Linked DNA regions of Homo sapiens: regions 2, 3, 4 and 5 are each linked to region 1. Evidence: promoter capture Hi-C in 16 types of primary human blood cells and fetal thymus (Javierre and others, 2016). All regions are on one chromosome and are shown on one strand. Each heading gives the region's core, a stretch centred on a gene start or on the middle of the fragment in contact. The rest is flanking DNA. Distances are from core to core; before and after follow the strand shown.

The links. The method cuts DNA at HindIII sites, captures the fragments that hold promoters and counts their contacts. A CHiCAGO score of 5 or more calls a contact.
Region 2: a contact is called between a fragment that was not itself captured here and the fragment with the promoter of UBE2W in region 1, in 5 of 17 cell types (fetal thymus, M2 macrophages, M0 macrophages and 2 more). The highest score is 16.4, in fetal thymus.
Region 3: a fragment that was not itself captured here is called in contact with the fragment with the promoter of UBE2W in region 1 in 1 of 17 cell types (fetal thymus); the score reaches 6.8 in fetal thymus.
Region 4: a contact is called between a fragment that was not itself captured here and the fragment with the promoter of UBE2W in region 1, in 1 of 17 cell types (M2 macrophages). The highest score is 5.2, in M2 macrophages.
Region 5: a contact is called between a fragment that was not itself captured here and the fragment with the promoter of UBE2W in region 1, in 1 of 17 cell types (M1 macrophages). The highest score is 5.9, in M1 macrophages.

Annotation. Positions count from the first base shown.
Region 1 is chr8:73,877,563-73,880,175 of GRCh38, forward strand. It overlaps UBE2W (ubiquitin conjugating enzyme E2 W), which reads right to left and starts at 1,300. Exons shown (of 6, transcript NM_018299.6): 1 at 1,246-1,300. The coding sequence starts at 1,260. It overlaps LINC01617 (long intergenic non-protein coding RNA 1617), which reads left to right and starts at 1,420. Exons shown (of 3, transcript NR_147034.1): 1 at 1,420-2,613. RefSeq lists enhancers at 1-32, 509-1,386 and silencers at 773-1,032, 1,053-1,102, 1,243-1,532. The HindIII fragment of the contact is 3,471 bases long and covers 1-2,299 here.
Region 2 is chr8:74,338,529-74,341,141 of GRCh38, forward strand. No RefSeq gene overlaps it. Among named protein-coding and RNA genes, the nearest start is that of GDAP1, 11 kb to the right of the region's middle. The HindIII fragment of the contact is 1,052 bases long and covers 796-1,847 here.
Region 3 is chr8:74,297,796-74,300,408 of GRCh38, forward strand. All of the region lies in intron 2 of JPH1 (junctophilin 1), which reads right to left. Among named protein-coding and RNA genes, the nearest start is that of JPH1, 22 kb to the right of the region's middle. The HindIII fragment of the contact is 2,590 bases long and covers 6-2,595 here.
Region 4 is chr8:73,489,944-73,492,556 of GRCh38, forward strand. All of the region lies in intron 13 of STAU2 (staufen double-stranded RNA binding protein 2), which reads right to left. Among named protein-coding and RNA genes, the nearest start is that of STAU2-AS1, 71 kb to the left of the region's middle. The HindIII fragment of the contact is 3,881 bases long and covers 1-2,613 here.
Region 5 is chr8:73,512,692-73,515,304 of GRCh38, forward strand. All of the region lies in intron 13 of STAU2 (staufen double-stranded RNA binding protein 2), which reads right to left. Among named protein-coding and RNA genes, the nearest start is that of STAU2-AS1, 94 kb to the left of the region's middle. The HindIII fragment of the contact is 1,227 bases long and covers 707-1,933 here.

The DNA.
Region 1 (2,613 bases), core at 50-2,549:
CACTTTTAGCAGAGTAAAGAAAAAAAAATGGAGGAGGAACAGAGACTTGCTTCTTCCAGAAACAAAAGCAAAAAACACTTCTAAGAAAATGTGGTCTCTTTACCCAAGGGGATATTATGAAAACGCTAAAGGGTACTCAGCTGACACTCCTATTGAGCGTTCTACTTTCTCTTCCAATGCCTTTGATACCGCTAGTCTTCACCTGTGAATTAAATGCAGGCTACAGATAACGCACTCAATCCCTGCACAACTACAATTGTGGTTGCCATCTTTGCCTGGAAACAAAAAACAAAAAAACCCACAACTCCCTAGATTCGGGAAAAAGGAGTAAATTAAGTTGGAAAGCCAGAAAACCACGCCTTGCTAAGTCGGGGGGATATGGCACAGGTTAACAAACGCCTCCTACCAAACTAAGGTTCCACTAAAGGTCTGGGAATAAGGGCAAAGAGATGTATAGCCTTATCGCGACCGCAAGGGTGGGGCCTTGCAGTGGGAAACAAAATAGAAGGCAAGCTATCCCGAGAGGTTTAAGGGGGCTGAGGACTCGGCTCTCGGGAGATCGCCCATCAGGCGGTGGACACGGGGCAGCTTCGAGAGGAAGGAGACAGTGGACTGCTGGAGGAATGTCCGCGAGAATACCGAGGCTGATGGAAATAGAAGATACCCACGGGCACAGGATTAAGAGTCAAAGGGAAGAAGAGAGGGACGGGGCCGAGCAGTCTGGGGGGCCCGGCGTGGGAGGCCGGAGCAGAGGCCGCTAAGCGCCGTCCGCAGCCAGCCGCCTTCTCCGGAGACGCATTCTCGGCTCCCGCACACTCAGCCCCCCGCCGCCCCTGCCCCGGCAACAACCGCGGGCGCAGCTGTTTCCGTCGGGCCAGGGACAGCGGGGGTAAAGGCAACCCTGGGGCTGGCGGGCAGCAGACTGGCAGCGCCCGTGTGTGTGTGCGGGGAGCCGATTCTGAGACCGCCAACGCCAGACTTTGCCCTTTCTTCCCCAACCCTCCTTTATCACCCAACTTCCCGGCCGGCTGGTGTCCGCTTCGACCGACGGATACCGCACCCCCCACAACGCCTCTCGCCGCCTCTTACCCCTCCCCCGACGCCCTGAGCTGAGGGAAAACAGGCCACCCGGACCGATCCCGAACCCGCCCGGGTGTCCCCGAATCGCGGACGCCACCCCCGCCCGAACGCTGGCACTCTCTCGGCGGCTCCCTGGCCCGCCCAGATGCAGCAAACTCCTCTCACCTGCATTGACGCCATGATGGAACCATCCCCCCAAGACCGGCGAGGCCAGAGACGCAGGGGGAGGAGCTGCCGTGCTCGCGTCACGCCGCGGGGGCTCAACATCCCGGGCGCGGGGGCGGGGTCTGCGATGGGAAGGGGATGGAGCGAGGGGATTGGCTGGCGCGCAGGGCGGACGGGAGGAGGGGCTACGGGGCGGGGCGAGGGCGCGGTAAATGGCGCTCTGAGTACTTTCTGTCTCAGTCCGGCTGGCCGCTCACGCGTCGGGCCCCCATTTACTCTCGTTACTGAGGAGACACGGCTCCAGTTTTGACCCGACTACGGTTGTTTTCTTCGTGTGTACCGCGAAATGCTGATGACGTCCGGTTCCGCGCAGTTTTTTTCCTATTTCGTTTCCAACCACAGTTGTGCGGTTCACAGATTTTTCCCTTGGGATGTGTTTTCCATACCTCCAAGCCCACTCTCAGAGCCTTGGGGCCCCATAAAACTTCATGCGCAGCTGCTTTCTGGTATTTGCAGACCTGGAAGGCTTCTCGTATTCTTAATTTGGGGAAGAGAGACATAGGTTTCCTTGTACAACGGGATGAGGATTTAAGAGCAGAACGACACTGATATTTTAAAGGCGAGGGTATTTAGATTTGTGGAGCTGAAACTTGCCTGAAAAGGGAGACAAAATTTGGAAGTTTGTTGTGTGCAGTTTCTGCCCCTTACCCCCGCCCTTCACTTTTAAACTGCGCATATATCAACAATAGTTACGGTTGTTGCAGCAGTCTAAATTTGATTATCAGAATTGACCCTAGGCATGAATTTTTTTTTAAATATACCAATGTCGTGTTATATACACTTATACCATTATGTCCAGACTTCTCTTAAGCATAGTTCGTGGTGGGCAGTTTTGTGGTCATTTAGGGATGAACTTGGGTAGGGAAAGCTGAGCATACATAATTTATTTTAGGAATGCACCAGTTCTGCCAACATTTATCAGAAGTCACGTTTTTAAAAAGCTATTCTGGAACTGAAGATGTCATTGGTTTATAAGAGGAAAATGGAAGCCAAAAGCTTACACCTCATGCTCTATCTTTAAAAATTAAGGTGGCAGACACAATGAGTAGAAGGCTTTTATGTTACCAGAATGAAGGCTTAAAATCTGTCATTTTATTGACTCGGCTTTCTTTTTAGAAATTTCTTTAAGATATAAAAGCAATGTGGAATATCACTCTTTCACACTCTTAAAATAGATTACGTTCTCTGGAACTTCTCTAATCTGAAATGTGTTCAAAAAGGAAAAAGATCTTTAAAATACGCCAGTTAGTCTATGGTATAATATTAAACACTATTCATCACTAGAGAAGTTATGGTGGTATACCCTCC
Region 2 (2,613 bases), core at 72-2,571, 460 kb after region 1:
TTAATTTTACAGAGGAAATGGCATCTTCAAGCACTTCCACACCTGGGCTGTGGCCAAGCGGGGCTCTACACCCACAGCCCATGCTCATCACCTCTGCAACCTGCAGCCTCCGCTATACTGTTCTGCTTCTGTGTACATTTCAAATCAAATTTGCAGAAGAGCACAAAGAATCTGAACAGTCATTTTAGCAAAGCTAAAATGTCACATGCATATGATGAACTAGGTGCATACAGACATGGAGGGAGCCAAAATCAGTCTCATTTGTTGTTTTTCTTTCTTTCTTTCTTTCTTTCCTTTTTACAACCCCAAAAAGCAGGAAGAGTCCTTCTCTTTTGGTGCATCATGTAATGCATGTTGTAATTAGTTATTTATGTATCTAAGTCCTTCATTTAGAAAACCTGTGTATACTTACGTCCCAGGAGCCGTCACCTGTGCCTTGTATCATTTTATCCTTAATTGGAGTTTCGGTGGCTTGTCATTTAGTTTCTTTCACGTCACAAAAGAGGAGTGTCTTAGGAAGAGTGGAGAGACTGAGCTCACACACAGGCAAGTAGAAAATCTTCAAGTGTTCTGGCAACACTTGGACACTCCCAACACTCCGCAGTGAAAAAGCCAATATTTGCCAAATTTCTAAGCTGTGCTTATCAGTCAAACTGTTTTTTTCACCCCCCGCTCCCCCCGCCCCCACCCTTTATCCATCTTTTCTTTCCTTAACAAGGTTACCACCAATAGCTGTTTATGGTACTAGTGGGATGCTAACAGTACACGTTTAAAATGTAGGCCAACAGATTTTGAAGCTTTTGATGACATACAGCAGATAGATTTGGAAATGCCTAAGAACTTCTCATTTTAACTTTCCTCCTGATAGAATCTATTTGTATCACTGGTTTTAGTCTTGTAGACTTGGAGGGAGTGGTGAAAGATGAACAGGCAGGGCTCAGCCACAAGGGGAGAAAAACGTCATCCACCCCCCAGAATAGCAACAGCAATAAATATGGTCATGTCGCTCTTCTGCTGAGGCTAAAACGACAGACAGGATCACATTTACGGCACCCAGCAGGCCCACTGCTATGAGGGGTGGCTCAGGGCTTTGGAAGCAACGTGTACAAAAGTTGGTGCTGATTTCAGAGCTGTGACTTAGCACAGAAAGAAACAGGGCATAGGGTCTAGACCCCAACTCAGAGCTAGAAGGGGCTTGGCACCCTCTTGGCCACAGGGGAGGACATTCTAAATCAGCTTTCAGGACAACTGGCTCAGGGCTCTTGAGAGCGGAGCTGAGAACTTCCCTGCATGTCTGCCTGAGAACTTGCTGTTGTCTGCAGCTGCCACAGCCGTGAAGGCCCAGATGTAATCAGGAAGGTAAAAAAGAGGGCTCTCATTGATCATCAGTTATTTAAAGAGGGCCCATCAGATTTCAGTGACTTCTTTGCACAGAATCAGCACCTTTGCTCTGGGAAGTCTAACAGGAAGGAATATCTCCCTTCAAAACTCATCAAGGCTTCCCTTCCAGACCAAGCCACTGGATTTTAGCCATTAAGGCTCTAGATGCCTCAACTTCATCTCTCTATTTTCATATATATTCCAATTTCATATACTAAATGTCCATATCTCTGGGGAGTTGTGTTTTTACCATCTTCTTTTGCCACTTGAAACTGGTAGGATGGGGCTTATGCATTTTCATAACTTGCATACAGCAGGAGTCTCTTAGGCTGAATAGTTTTCAAGCTAACATATGTAGCTGATTCTTCATATGTGCTTTGGAAACCAAGGCATCACCTGAATTTGACCAGTTTCCCTTTTTTCTGTTAAACTTCCCTGCTCCAAAATGATGCAGTTTCATAAAGTGAAGCTTTTCCGCTCTGCCATCTTTGTGGTTCACCGACTTTTCCAACCTGTCCCCGCAGGGAATCCCTGGAAGCAGGTTCACTTTGGCCACATCACCCCTTTCTCTCATGGAACTTTAGTAACCACAGACTCAACTCCGTGCTTTCATTTGTTTCAATTACATACTGAGGATTTAAATTGATCTTTTCTTTATGGATTGCAATATTACTTTTATTTGAAAAATATAGTACTTAAGTGAAAGCCAATGTTGTTTTACACTTTGGTGTCTCTGTAAAATTCAGCACTATATTCTATTGTCACTGTTATCTTATGCTTCTTTAGGATCTTATTAAGACAAACAAGGTAAGTGAAGTATGTTTTTATAGTACTGTAATCATTCTCATATTTGTGCTGTCACTGTCCTTGGTAACGGGTGGTTAAGAAAAAAAAAATCATACCAGTGTGTTGAAGCTGGTGCCAAAGAAACATAAATGATTATTGCTGCTCATTGTCTGCTGCTGCCCAGAACTTTAACTTGCCCTATTTATACAGTTACAAAGCAAAATCTTACTTAGAGAAACCTTTGCAACATTAGCATTTTCTTTCTTTAAAGCTTATGTCTCTGAGTTTTTATGCCGTGTTTCTCACGTAGCCAGAGACAATGCAGACATAAATTAACTTTTCTGTGTATTATTTAGTGACGAAAAGAACACAACAGCAAGGATGTTTGAAAAATAAATTCCAGTGTATTCTTAAATACTCTAATTTGAATGACAAAGCTATATTCCA
Region 3 (2,613 bases), core at 51-2,550, 420 kb after region 1:
GTTAAAGCTTTGATAGTGTGTGGCTATCTAGATAGTGTGATGACTACTCTTATTACCCCTTAAATAAAAAGTACTTGCTAATTTGATTTTAGATGATGAAATTATATAGAGAAATTACATTTATAACAACAATTGAACCTTGTCTAGCATTTTGTCTTAATAGTAGCACAAAAATAATTCTCTGCTTCTTTCCACACACAGGTCATCATCTCTGCCTCTTCTTTAGAGATTTCTCTATTCCAGCCCCCTCTACTCACTTTCCTAATAATTGCTGTTATAAATGCCAGTGCCAATCTCCAATTTTGATGTATTCATATCCTCGGGAAGCTGCTAAGTGCTCAAGGCTTCAAAGTACTGTTCTTACTTGAAACTCATGTTATCTTTTTATCTATCACCTTGAATGTCCACACATCAGATTCACTATCTTTCTCCCCATAATGTCTCCATCAGCCTTTATGGTGCCACTTATGCTCTTAGCTAATTGTACTCACATCCTTAGAACGTTAACTCCCTTGTATACAGCTGGTTGTTGTATACAAGATGGGTTTTCCTTTACAAATTTCAAGGGTGCAGTTCTTTATTGCCTAGATGCATTTATTCATGTCCTTTATGATCTCATCCCCAACTTCTGCTGCTTGCAATCTACCTTGAGCACTGTAGCTAAAATCACTCTCCTCACATGTTGTTTTGCTCCTGTTAATAACTTCCTCGGCACTCTGAAACGGTTTCCACTTGTGTGTTGCATAATACCCTGGTTAGTGCTTTTCAGATCCTTTAATAGTCAGGCACCCCTTATCTAATTGTCCTCTTCTCTTGCCATGACTCAGCTGTACTCGACGGCACTGCAACGCAAAATCCAGGTGGGTTTGTTGTAAGACTTTTCAAAAGAGGATGAAGCTACAGGGTACAAATCTGACAGTAGGGCTGTAGCTAATATCTCCACCACTTTCCTAACTTTCCTACAACAGCATTCATTTTCAGAAATATGAGTAGTCATACCACTGCTGTTCTCCACAAATTTATTACCTTTCTGGATGTTTTTCCTGGTGGTAGAATGAAGGCACGAGAGACCTGTGTGCATATGAAAGATCCTTGTTTTCAGGTTCTACTACTGGCAATGGGAGCCATTACGAAACATCAACCCAGAATATCAGGAGAAGATTAAACAGGCTATGAAGCTAAAATTAAGACCTATTACAAAAAGCCACGAAGACGACACTGCCCACAAATAATGAACACTGGTGACCTTTACTGCCTTTGAGGGGGTTTTTTTCTCCTCGGGCTGTACATCATTAGATGGGGTCTTCTCCCACCTGGTAAAATTTCGATCCACTGTGAACAAATCTTCCCTTAGCTTCCCTTTAAAATGTTGCCGAAGGACCAACTTCTTTACGAAGTCATTCCAGAGCAACTCTTCCTGGCACCAGACACACTAATCATACCGGGACCTTCTTTATTCACCTCGTCTTTCTAATATTTCTCCCTTTTTCTCATTATTCAGTATTTCTTTAGGGTGTTAAGTGTAGCCTAAAGCTGCCTCCTTACATATTTTACATTCAGCCTAAAGGTTTCTCTGCACACCACGAACTATAACCTAAATGGAGTTGTATACAGATTGTAGCTTACTCTTGTGTCAATCACTGAGTTTTGGGCCAATCAAAGGGGGTCAACGATTCGAGCCGTGTTCAAATAAGGCAAATGACGAGCTGTAGCCAATCAGCTGTTTCTGTACCTCACTTTCCTTCTTCTGTCTATAACCCTTCTTCAACTACACAGCTGCACTGGAATCTCTGTACCCACTCTGGCTCGGGTGGCTGCCTGATGTGCGAATTGTTCTTTGCTCAATTAAACTCTGTTAAATTTGGCTAAAGTTTTTCTTTTAACCACAGCCACATATGCATATTTACATAGACACTGTTTATGGGGAGCGGGGTGCCTGTCTGAGGCTTGTTTTGTTTTTTCCCTTTGTTGGTGTATGCCTTCTATTTCCCTTGAAGTATCTTTAACATGTTGTCATTGGGTGCTGAATACAGTGGCACATCTTTAACTGTTACAAATATAGCAACTGTAATTTAAAGAAAACTTTTAAACAATAAAGTTTTGTAGCTGAACTTTTAACACCACAAAAGTGATTCATTACTAAAAAGTTTAAAGAAAAAAAGAAAAGAAAACCTTCAATATGTTCTTCTCGCCCTCGTTTTCACTTACGGAATTAAACAGTAGTGACTACTTACTCTAGAATCACATTTTCATAGTTCCAACAATGGGCTGAAAGTTACTCTGATCTAGCGAAGAGTTAGAATAATTTTTCAAAATGCTTTTACTGTCAAATTCACACAGTACCATGAAAAACAACAAAAACAAAATATCACTAGGCTATAGGCCAAGTAAAAGTCTTTGGAACTGCTTTATAAACAAGTCAATCCACTCCTTTGTTAATTCCTAGAAGACTAGCCATTTTGACGTTTATATAAACTATGAAACCTTCATGGAATGTGGCAGAGCACTAATAAACAAATACGGGACTGACTGAATTGCTTCGTGTTATTTTTTTAACTACCTCCCATGTACATGCATTTTCTCTAATTGACTCTAAGCTTGTGTGTGCGTTGT
Region 4 (2,613 bases), core at 43-2,542, 390 kb before region 1:
GAAATCCTTTTTGGCATTCTGCATATAAAATCTTCTCAGAAAGACATCTGCAGTTTAAAAAAATTCCACCTACTTTTACTACTACAACCTTTGTTAATTTGCTACAGTTCTCTGCTCCAGTAACTTAAAAGTCATTTCCTTAAGAAAACAGATGACAGACAACTTGAGTGACTGATTATATTGTGCCATCACTTTGTTTTTCTCAGAGGCCTTGGTTTAAGAGGATGGATGTTCGTGTAAATGACAGCAAGGGGAGCTTCGCATAAGATTTCACTTCTGTTCAAAGACAAGCTAATGTAACCTCACTGCGGTGCCATCAACTTGACAAATGGACACCGCGCAACCCTCTGCCTCCCACTGAAACCCGAGAGCCTGATTTACACAATATTCTCCCTGTAGATGGAAAAAGACTTCATGCTGCTAGGCTGTATAATGGGTTGATCTGATAATTCTTTGCATGTAATGAAATTTGATAATATGAAGGTGAGATGCATCTCAAAGAATGAGGCAAGCTAATGAACTTGTAAAACTACACTTAAGTCTTTTAAAACCTGAATAAACATTAAAAGGGACTTAGCTCAATCCATGTTGAGAAAACGTAGCAGTTCTCATGTTTTAACTCTGCAATCAAAGATACACGGCCTTTACTTAAAAGGAATAAAAGATTCCAGCTCCAAGGAGTATAGCTCTATTCAAACAATTCAATATGATCTGTAGAAATTGCTGTGCCTTATCTTTACCATCAGATTTTGCTGGTCCTCAGTTCCTTACCTCAAGAATTCTACATTACTTTATCCTGTTAAATTATTTTCCTGGGAGCTCAATATTCTTCCTTCTAAAGTAGGAAATTTCTTAAAGAATTGATAAATAATGCCATGCAAAATTAACAAATAGTTCATCTGGAGATTTAAACGTACCTTAAACTGGCACAAAAATCACAAAAATTAGAGCTTCATAAGAAACATCCACTTCTGTTTTAAAGTCGTAAGTTCTTACATATTCAAAGTATGAATGTTTAAATAAAGTATTCTGAAAAGAAATTCATGGTATAGTTTATTTTATAGGCAAGGCTGATCTCAAATCCTCGGCAGTAAAACTGTCTATTAGTATTAATGCCTGGAAATAAACACCATGAATGTAAACTACAATCAGAAGCAGTTTTAACACATGTAAATGTTGAATGAGGTAGAATTTTAGGCTTATATTTACTTTGCTGTTGTCACAAATAAAAAAAGCACTTATGAAAACATTTCATGCTGAAGTGAATGGATCTCAACAGCTGCTGATTTGGTGACATGGAGAACCCCAGAGGAGACATCCTGCTGAATTAACGTTTTGGAAATGTTAAAAAGAAACTTCAAACAGACCTTGTTTAGCAGGCGGTCAAAGATTTTGCTCTGTGGGGATCATGTGAAGGCTAGCAGAGCAGTCACTCAGCCATGAATCAGACTTGTCAATAGTTGCCTATTTTCTCAACAGGTGACTTAAATAGGCACACAGTCTATTTCCCCTAACATTTCTGTGTGTACTTGTGCACAAAAAAATCATCCTAGACTTTGCTCTGGGATTTATTTAGGAAGGCACAGCATGCAGGGATGGGGAAATAGTTGTTTAAGGGGTTTAGACATATTTTTTAAATGTGTACTTTTGCTTTTTTTAACTAAAAAAATTAGCTAAGTTACATTTAAAATCTTATTTTCAAACAAACTTTTATCCTAAGTTAGAAACCTGGAACAGATTCAATCAAATAATTATAGGACAGTAAAGAACCTTGAAGATAGCAAAGATCAAACCCATTATTTCACAGATGAGGAAACTAAGGCCTACAGAGCTTTAAGTGATTTGCCAAATATTTACTTGTTCATGTGTTCGGACTAGAACTTCCATTTTCTGACTCCTTGGTTCAAAATTAGTACACTAAACTTATCCTTAAGAAATAAATGAGAAGTAGTCTTCTTTGAGCAATGTAAAAATACGCAAGAGAAGAAACCATTAAACTGAGTAAGATCTCATGGTTCAGTGTTTTTCTGATTTGGCGTGTTTTGATTATTTTCCTTTATGCTGGCCACAGAGAAAGAGAGAGAGTTAATGGAAAATTCCTTCCCCACACCACCAAGAAGTAGAGGTGGGGGCTGGGGTGAGAAAAGGCCCAGTACCAAGATGTGTTTTCTACTTTCAACATTTAGGAGTTTAGTGTAAATGTAGAGTACAAAAACAATAAAGCATTTCTTTGTTACTGACTCAGATTGGCATTGTAAACTATGCCATACAAGCTACTATTATGTCAGAAAATTACCAGGTATCCATTAAATGAGCTCAGACTGTTTTCTATTGTTAAGAATTTTTTAGTTGTTTTGGAAAGCCTAAGTACAGAGTTCAGTGAAAGTTCTCAGAGGTGACTCCACAATCACAGCAGTACTCATTACCTTAGTCAACCTCTCCTACTGCTTCCATCAATGCACGGTCATTACCAGCCAATGCTAAAATGGAATCCGAGGCTTAGTAAATCACCTCCAATTGACAAGATGCTTCCTAGATAAGTACTCTCTTGAAAATACTTTCTACATGATTCAGAGTTAAAAATTAGGAAGAAAAGCAAATGCCAATGCCATC
Region 5 (2,613 bases), core at 70-2,569, 360 kb before region 1:
TACAGGATCACATCATCTGGAAATAAAGAACATTTTGCTTCTTCCTTTCAAAGCTACACGCTGATCTATCTTGAAGTTTATGGGTGTGGGTTCTTCTGCCATCTCAAATCTGTTATTGAGTTACTCAAGTGAATTTTTCATTTCGGTTATTGTACTTTTCAACTCCAGAATTTCCATTTGACTTTTTAAATAATTTATCTTGAGATTCTTTATTTGTTGAACCATTGTTGTTATACTTTCGTTTAATCCTGGTTTTCTTTAATTCCTTGAACATATTTTAGCTGCTTTGAAGTATCTGTCTGCATAGTACATCTGAGCCCACTCAGAAACACTCAGCTTCTGCTTCCATTCACTGCTTTTTCCCCCTAAGTATTAATCACCCTTTTCTTTCTTTAAATATCTTGTAATTTTTTAAGCCTGAATTTTAGGTACAATATTGTACTAACTCTGGATTTTTATGTTCTTCCCTCGGGATTGTTGTTCTTGCTGTGGTTTTCTTTTTTTGTTTATTAAGTTGCCTAAACTAAATCTGTGGAATCCATCTCCTTCATGGTGCATCGCTGCTTATCTCTCTACTTAATTTTTTAAAACTTATTTTTGTTTTTATTTTTAAGCCTGATTCTTAGGGGTCACTCCCATGTCTGCATAGCTTAGTGGTCAGCCAGTAATTAGTCGGTGGTTATGCTCAAATACCCTAAGCTAGTAAAGCTTTTACCCTCTGCCCATGGGTCTGTGGTTGGGTTGGGGGAGCCCATTAAAAACTCAGGCAGTTTTCAAGTCTGCCCTGGCATTTACTTTCTGCCAGGCCTTTTTGCATCTTCTCTGCATATGTGCAGATTTCACAGTCATCCAGGGTGTATAGGTAGCTTGAGCCCTCTTTGATATCTCCTGCTTGTGTTTGAAGTGTTTTGGTGAGTTTATCAAGGCTCCCTATCACTGTGCCATTTTCCCAAATCTCCCTGATAGATTTCTGGCTAGTCTGCTGATACACTGTTGGCCCCAACTAGGAATGTAACCTCAGGTTCACTGAGTTGCTAGCTAGCCTTTCTTGTCTCTTACCGAGATGTCTACTGTTACTCATAATGTTGGTGGGCATGGGGCTTTCACATTCCATTTCATATCAAGGAAGGCCACTCCATCAGTGAAACTGATGGTTTTCATGGCCTTCTTTACCCTTGTAGAACTATTGTGCTGAGTCTGCAGGTGGGGGATGGGAGCACCCGCAGGCAGAAACACCACAAAATCCTAATTAGCTTACTTGGAGCACTATAGTTTGTCTATGAATAAATGCTTCTCAATTTGTTGAGTGTCTTTTATCAATTTTCAGAGTCCTAAAGTTGCTGTTTTTGACAATTTTGTCTAGTTCTGTTGTTTTTTGGAAAGGGAATTTGTTCAGCTCTCACTCTGTTCTTTTGGTAGTCTACCTTTAGAACTATTGTTAAGAGCTTTTTTTCACTCTTTCATACTCAGCTGGTCATCAAGGCCTGCTGATTTTTTCTCTGCAATGTCTCTTTAGGAGAGATGCTGCTTTCCTTGCCATTTTCAGAGTCACACCCATCAAGGTGATCAGTATCCATTCCTAAATTCCTATGATAGAAGCCTTCCTCCTCATCACAGTCAGTTCTGCATCTGGCTGCTAGATTGATCTTATAGACACCAGCATAATCACATCCCTTGTTCCTGAATGAAGAACGGCTCTTTGTTGCAAAGAACATAAATTTCATACTGCTCAGCCTACCTTTCAAGAATGTATTCAACTGCCTTGATCTCATGTACAATCATTTATGTCTGGAACTCCCACCAAGTTGAGTTTTTCTATCCCCACATATTCTTTGTCAACTTCCATTTTTCTACCTTTTCTCATGCTGTTTCCCCTATGTGGAATGTCCTTATAATCTGCCTTTCAATTTTTGGTCCATCAACTCCTAAAAGAAGCTTAATCAGATTAATTCTTCTGTTGTTGATCATTCCTATACTCCATAGCTCTTCAGTATTCATATGTAGATTTTTAAAACATTTCTGGCACAAAATCTTACTGGTTTGCAATTGGTCTTCAATTGTTTCTGTATATGTTTTATTTTTTCTCCAACTTTTTTTTCCTTTTTAAGGATTTATTTTTTAGAACAGTTTTAGATTCACAGAAAAATTGAGCACAACTTACAGAGACTTCTCATATAACCCTTGCCTCCAACTTTTAATTATAATCAATTTAGGACTTTATTTACAAAATAGAAGATACTTCTTAGCATCTAGTACAGTGGTGGACATGCAGCTGGTGGTTAAAACATGACTGTTGAGTGAATAAAATGTTTCTTGATCTTCAATGAAAATTCTAAAAACTCTTTGAAAATGAACACTTTTGGATTTTTTTTTCCTGAAGACCTTAACTCTTACATATACCTCTGAAAGCAGCAGTAGTATTAAAACTATTTAATAGTGTGCCATGAAAACTGAAAATAAAATTAGAAAAGAAAACAGAGTCCTGAAAACTGCTGGGCCAAATAATGACCTATTAGTTCCTAGACCATGGGGAAGTCCCAGAGGTCCTGGACATGAGGCCATGAAGGCAGGGGGTGAAGCATGAGGTAGCAGCTATTTGCCATGTGGAATGAA